Regions from separate parts of the Homo sapiens genome. Here region 1 is linked to region 2. The links are contacts of gene promoters, found by promoter capture Hi-C in blood cells and fetal thymus (Javierre and others, 2016). All regions are on one chromosome and are shown on one strand. The core of a region is centred on a gene start or on the middle of the fragment in contact, and the rest is flanking DNA. Distances in the headings are between cores, read along the strand shown. Region 1 overlaps PML (PML nuclear body scaffold). Region 2 holds the start of PPCDC (phosphopantothenoylcysteine decarboxylase).

What was found. Contacts are between HindIII fragments. The CHiCAGO score rates a contact against its expected background, and 5 or more counts as called.
Region 1: a fragment that was not itself captured here is called in contact with the fragment with the promoter of PPCDC in region 2 in 1 of 17 cell types (total CD4 T cells); the score reaches 5.6 in total CD4 T cells.

What each region holds. Positions count from the first base shown.
Region 1 is chr15:74,034,346-74,037,238 of GRCh38, forward strand. PML (PML nuclear body scaffold) reads left to right here. Exons shown (of 9, transcript NM_033238.3): 7 at 133-185. Among named protein-coding and RNA genes, the nearest start is that of PML, 41 kb to the left of the region's middle. RefSeq lists an enhancer at 2,746-2,893. The HindIII fragment of the contact is 8,663 bases long and covers 1-2,893 here.
Region 2 is chr15:75,022,025-75,025,175 of GRCh38, forward strand. It overlaps PPCDC (phosphopantothenoylcysteine decarboxylase), which reads left to right and starts at 1,566. Exons shown (of 6, transcript NM_021823.5): 1 at 1,566-1,602. The HindIII fragment of the contact is 7,713 bases long and covers 1-3,151 here.

The DNA of each region.
Region 1 (2,893 bases), core at 372-2,871, 990 kb before region 2:
TTCCCGTCCCCCTGCAGGGCATCCGTTTCCCCCAGCCGACTGGCCTGCAAGGATTCCCATAGGTGCACACCCACACCCCTCCCAGCATGCATCCTAGGCAGTTCATAATGCATCTCCCCTTCCCCGTTTCAGAGGAACGCGTTGTGGTGATCAGCAGCTCGGAAGACTCAGATGCCGAAAACTCGGTGAGTGGCCCAGAAGTTCAGCCCAGGACTCCTGCCTCCCCCCATTTCAGGTCCCAGGGGGCACAGCCACAGCAGGTGACTCTCAGACTTGCCTTGCGCCTGGGGAATTTTCCAGTGAGGCATTGAGTCCCAAGCTGTGCTGAGGACAGTCTCCAAATGACAGCTGCATGCCTGGACCACCCCAGCCCTCCCACTACACCAGGGCCAGGAGCTCTTCTGAAATGCTGATAGCATGTGTCCAGAGCCCTGTCTCTTTTCTGGAATGTCCAAGACCTTTGTCTGGAGCTTCCTTATGCATTTTCTGTCCTCTAAGTCCTCAGTGAGGAGGGCTGGACAAGAATCCATTCCTTGGTTTATTACAGCCAGTGGGGGCCAGTGAAGGGGTGTCAGGCCACAGGGCAGCTATATAGGGGCCAAACAAGTGAGGTTTGACTCCATCCATGTAGAAAGATATATAAATCCATTCCACAGTGAAACAGGTGGCCTCGTGGGTAGTGACCCTTCTGTCCCTAGAGGTTTATTACTAGAGGCTGGACTATCACCTGTCCAGGGGAAAAGGGGATCTGAATAGAGTGAAAGGTTGGACTGGGTGGCCCCTGAGGTCTCTTCCAGCCCTCAGTCTGAGGTTCTGTATTGGAAAGTGCATGGAGCCCATGGAGACCGCCGAGCCACAGTCCTCGCCAGCCCACTCCTCGCCAGCCCACTCCTCGCCAGCCCACTCCTCGCCAGTCCAGTCTCTGCTGAGAGCACAAGGAGCCTCCAGCCTGCCCTGTGGCACATACCACCCCCCAGCTTGGCCTCCCCACCAGCCCGCTGAGCAGGCTGCCACCCCCGATGCTGAGCCTCACAGCGAGCCTCCTGATCACCAGGAGCGCCCTGCCGTCCACCGTGGGATCCGCTACCTGTTGTACAGAGCACAGAGAGCCATCCGCCTTCGCCATGCCCTCCGCTTGCACCCTCAATTGCATCGGGCCCCTATTCGGACTTGGTCTCCCCATGTGGTCCAAGCCAGCACTCCTGCCATCACAGGGCCCCTCAACCATCCTGCCAATGCCCAGGAACATCCTGCCCAGCTGCAAAGGGGCATCAGCCCACCCCACCGGATACGAGGGGCTGTGCGATCCCGCAGCCGCTCCCTCCGGGGCTCCTCCCATTTATCCCAGTGGCTCAACAACTTTTTTGCCCTCCCCTTCTCCTCCATGGCTTCCCAGCTTGACATGTCTTCCGTGGTGGGGGCAGGGGAAAGCAGAGCCCAGACTCTTGGAGCAGGTGTTCCCCCTGGGGACTCTGTCAGAGGCTCCATGGAGGCCTCTCAAGTCCAAGTGCCTCTGGAAGCCTCTCCAATTACATTCCCACCACCCTGTGCCCCAGAAAGGCCCCCCATCAGCCCAGTCCCAGGCGCCCGTCAAGCAGGCCTCTGAGAGTGCTACCCTTCTCTTGTAACCTTGCAGCCAACACCCCTGCCCGGCCCCTGAGCTGCCTCCTCCAGCCCATGCTCTTACAGGCCCTGCACAGAGTAGCACTCATTAATTCTTGGTTAAGGAATGAATCAACGAATGAATGGCTATGCATGGACCTCTGGGCAGGGAGACCTGGGTCTTCTCTGGCTGAGAGGGGAAGGCTAAGGCATGGCTGAGATTCAAGCCACCATTCCAGGCCTCTTTGCCCAAGAAAGAAACTTCTGTCACCCTTGCACTCTCCTGTATTCTGAGTCCCTGGCCAATAGCACAGCCTTCCATGCCCCGACCCCCACCCCAAGCCTCTCCACTAGGCCTCTGCCAGGATCTAAGCCCATGAGCACAGGGACTGGCTATCCCAAGACCTGGCAGATGTGGCTGCTCAATAAACACTTGTTGAACCATCACCCTTGCGAACCCTTATTCCACGACCATCGCGTTCTCCGATGGATCCAGCTCCTCCCTGCAGGCTGTTCTCTCTTCCCTATGCTGGAACTCAGTTCTCCTCTGGGGATACCATGTCCCCTCTTCCTCCCACACTCATGGGCATCAGAGGTGGGAGGTAGGGTCAAGGCCCCCTGCTTCCTGGACTGTTCCAGCCCCTTCCTGGCCGTCTGGTAAGATCCTCTGTCCCTCTCAGGGTGGGCCCCATGCTCCCCAGCTCATCCCAGACACCCACCTGCCCACCCTCATTGAGGGCAGACGTGAGCATTCACCTCCCAGATTTCTTCTCCCTGCTCAGGTCCTGCCTTCCTCCTGAGTGACTTCTATTTCCACCCACCTGCCCGCCACTCCTTAACCTCTCAGGGGTTGTCACCCCATTCCCCCAGACAGCTGCCTGCCCCGTGGCCGTGCCCTGCACCTTGCCATCACCGAGCACTGTCGGTCCCTCAGCCGGTCCTCTCAGACTCTGACCGCAGCCTCCTGTTCCTTGAGCTCTCAGTCCTACCTTCGCCTCCCTCCAGCCCCGCGCACTCCCCATTTCATCCCATCTTTCATCAGAATTGCAGCTCCCTGCCCAGCAGAAAATCCTGGAAGGACTCAGGAGCTTGTCGCCTCTGTGCTGCCACCTGGAGACCGAGATCTGCAGGAGAAAGGCCTGGGAAAACTATGAGTGGTTGCCTGTGACTGCTAAGGGCTCCTTGGTGCTCCGCCCAGCATGTCCTTTTGCTCTGCAGGGCAGCCCCCGCCTGCCTTTCTTCACTGGGCCCTTGTCCCAGCCTCACCCTCAGCTGATGGCGGCACCTTCTG
Region 2 (3,151 bases), core at 316-2,815:
GGCTGGATCCCTGCGTAAGGGATGGTTTGGCCCAGATGGTCCACTGCGGCTAAGGGCGGGGGTAGAGCAGAGGCCCCACCTCAGCTCAGGGCAGGGGACCCGCAGCTGGTTCAGCCACCTCAATGAATACAGAGGTTCCTGGGGCCTGTGAAGGCTAGAAAATGAAGGGGGCAGGGAAGCATGCCAGTGTGTGTTCTTCTGCCGCCTTCCCTTTGCCCATTTGATGCCTTCCACCTGGATCGCTATTGGGATCCTCTATCTAACCTCCTGGCTGTCCTTCAAGATTCATTTCAAGTCACTCCTTCAAGAAGGCTTTCCTGCCTAGAGGTGTTGCTTCCTCATGGAGGATCTTACCCTGTCATTTTCTGTGTCCCTGTTTGTCTCAAGAACAGGGACGCATCTGATTTATCTCTGTATCCTGTGCACCTAAAATAGAAGAGGCTTGGTAAATATTAAGTGCCACGAGCCCTCTTTTACTAAGGACCTGCCAACATGGGCCCCATTCACACTAATACCATGAAGATAGCCCTTTTCTATACTTCGTCATAAAAAAGTAATACACACACCCGGGCAGCAACTTCCACACAAACAACACATGTGCAAGGAGATCACCATTATTTCCAGCAAAATGCTCCCCAGGGCCGAGCGTGGTGGCTCACTCCTGTAGTCCCAGCACTTTGGGAGGCCAAGGTGGGCGGATTGTTTGAGCCTAGGAGTTTGAGACCAGCCTGGGCAATAGAGTGAGAACCCGTCTCTACAAAAAATACAAACATTAGTCTGGCATGATGGTGCACTCCTGTAGTCCTGGCTACTCCATAGGCTGAGATAGGAGGATGGCTTAAGCCCAAAAGGTGGAGGTTGCAGTGAGTGGAGATAGCACCACTGCGCACTCCAGTCTGGGTGACAGAGCCAGACCCTGTCTCAAAAAAAAAAAAAAAAACAAAAAAAAAAACAGCTCCCCAACAAGATAGCAGGCTACAACATGCATGTGATGAAGCTGATTTGAAGCGCTCAGTGAGAGGTATCTGCATCAAGTTGCAGGAGGAGAAGAGAGAAAGGAGAGATAATCATGTTCCTGAGGTCTCAGCCCTGGATCAGGAAATCATTGAAGTATTAACATATCCTGACATTAAGGAAATGCTGATGTTTTTGGACTTTGGCAGTCTGTCCAACCTGCAGGTCACTCAGCCAACAGTGGGGATGAATTTCAAAACGCCACGTGGAAGCTGTTTGAATCTTTTTGAGATACTGTAATATTTTCAATAAACCTGGGACAACAGCAAAAAAAAAAAAAAAAAAAAAAAGGCCCCAAGCAACAAGCAGTGTGTGTGGGGCTGATAGGAGTGAGGAAAGGAGGTCGGACAGTTATGCCAGCCCCTATCGAGAGTCCCAGCAATACAAAGAACAGGGCCAGGGTTTGCTCCAGGATTTCCCCAGTGGACTACAACTCCCGGAAGGCAGAGAAGTGGACTACAGCTCCCAGAAGGCTGCGCGACATACAGCCAGCCCGGTGCTCTCGTGAGGCGTGCCAGTCAGATTCCGCGGGAGAGCGGCAGAGATACCGCGATATTTGGGAGCGGCCCCGAGACGCGCCTGGCGCGGGTGAGCAGTGGAAGGGGGCTGGGAAGCTGGGTTCTCGCGGCGGCGCGGGAGGGGAGGTTCGGGGAGCTGTGTCCGCGAGCGTGGGTCCACGGCTGTCTGTGTGTGTCCTTATTTTCCCCTGTGTGCCCATGAAGCTCTGTTTGCGACTGTGCGTGGGTAGGCGGCCGTCCATCTGTGCGACCTCACTTTCCCGGCTGTACGGGTGGGGCCGCCTGGAGCAGGAGGGACCCCCGAGCCCTGAGTGGAGGGTTTGCATCTGTACCCGTCCAGCCCGACTTTGTGCTGCTCTGCGATTATTTGTCCAGTGTCGTTTAATCTAGTTTAAATGATGGCCGTGTCAGCTCCTCACACTGAACGCTTACCCGGGCTGCCCAAAGTACAAAGTGTATTTAAAAAGTTGGTAAAATTAAAAAAGGAAAGCCATGGGATGTTGGAAGTAGCCCTAGGCCTGCCAAAAAGTGCTGAGTGCTATTTAAAAATTAGGCCAAATCTTGTCAGAAAAGAACTTCCTGCTGTCCTTGAAGTATTTGGAAGCAGGTGCTAGATGGTGAGCAGGAGAGGTTGCCAAGTTGGGGAAGTGGTGGTTGTCCTGGAGCAGGGGTTTCCACATCTCTCACAGTGGCTGGGAAGTAGCAATTCGCAGTCACTGCCTTTCTAGTAGCCCACGTGTGTGAGTGTGTGTGTTAGATACATTTATCCCTCAGTATCCGCAGGGGATTGCTGTATACTTTTTTTTTTTGAGACAAGGTCTCATTCTGTGACCCAGGCTGGAGTGCAGTGGCAGGAACATGGCTCACTGCAGCCTCGACCTCCTGGGCTCAAGGGATCCTCCTGCCTCAGCCTCCTGTGTAGCTGGAACCACAGGCATAAACAACCATACCCGGCTAATTTTTATTTTATTTCATTTTTGTAGAGACAGGGTCTCACCATGTTGCCCAGGCTGGTCTCAAACTCCTGGCTCAAGCTATCCTCCTTCCTTGGCCTCTCAAAATGCTGGGATTACAGGTGTGAGCCACCACATCACCCTCCTGTATACTCTTTTTTCTTTTCTTTTTTTTTTTTTGAGTCAGGGTCTCACTCTTGTCTCCCAGGCTGGAGTGTAGTGGTGCAATCATAGCTCACTGCATCTTCGAACTCCCTGGGCTCAGATAATCCTCCCACCTCAGCCTCCCAGGTAGCTGGGACTGCAGGCACGTGCCACCACGCCCTCCATATAATTTAAATAATCTCTAGATTACTTATAAAACCTGATACAGTGTAAATGCTATGTAAATAGCTACACACTTTTTTTTTTTTGTGGTACTATTATTATATTTTGAAATGGTCTCTCTCTGTCACCCAGGCTGGAGTGCAGTGGCACAAACATGGCTCACTGCAGCCTTCTAGGCTCAAGCGATCCTCCTGCCTCAGCCTCCCAAGTAGTTGAGACCACAGGCATGTGCCACCACACCTCACTAACTTTTAAATTTTTTGTATGGGGTCTTGCTATGTTACCCAGGCTGGTCTCGAGTACCTGGGTTTGCTCAATCCTCCCACCTTGCCCTCTTAA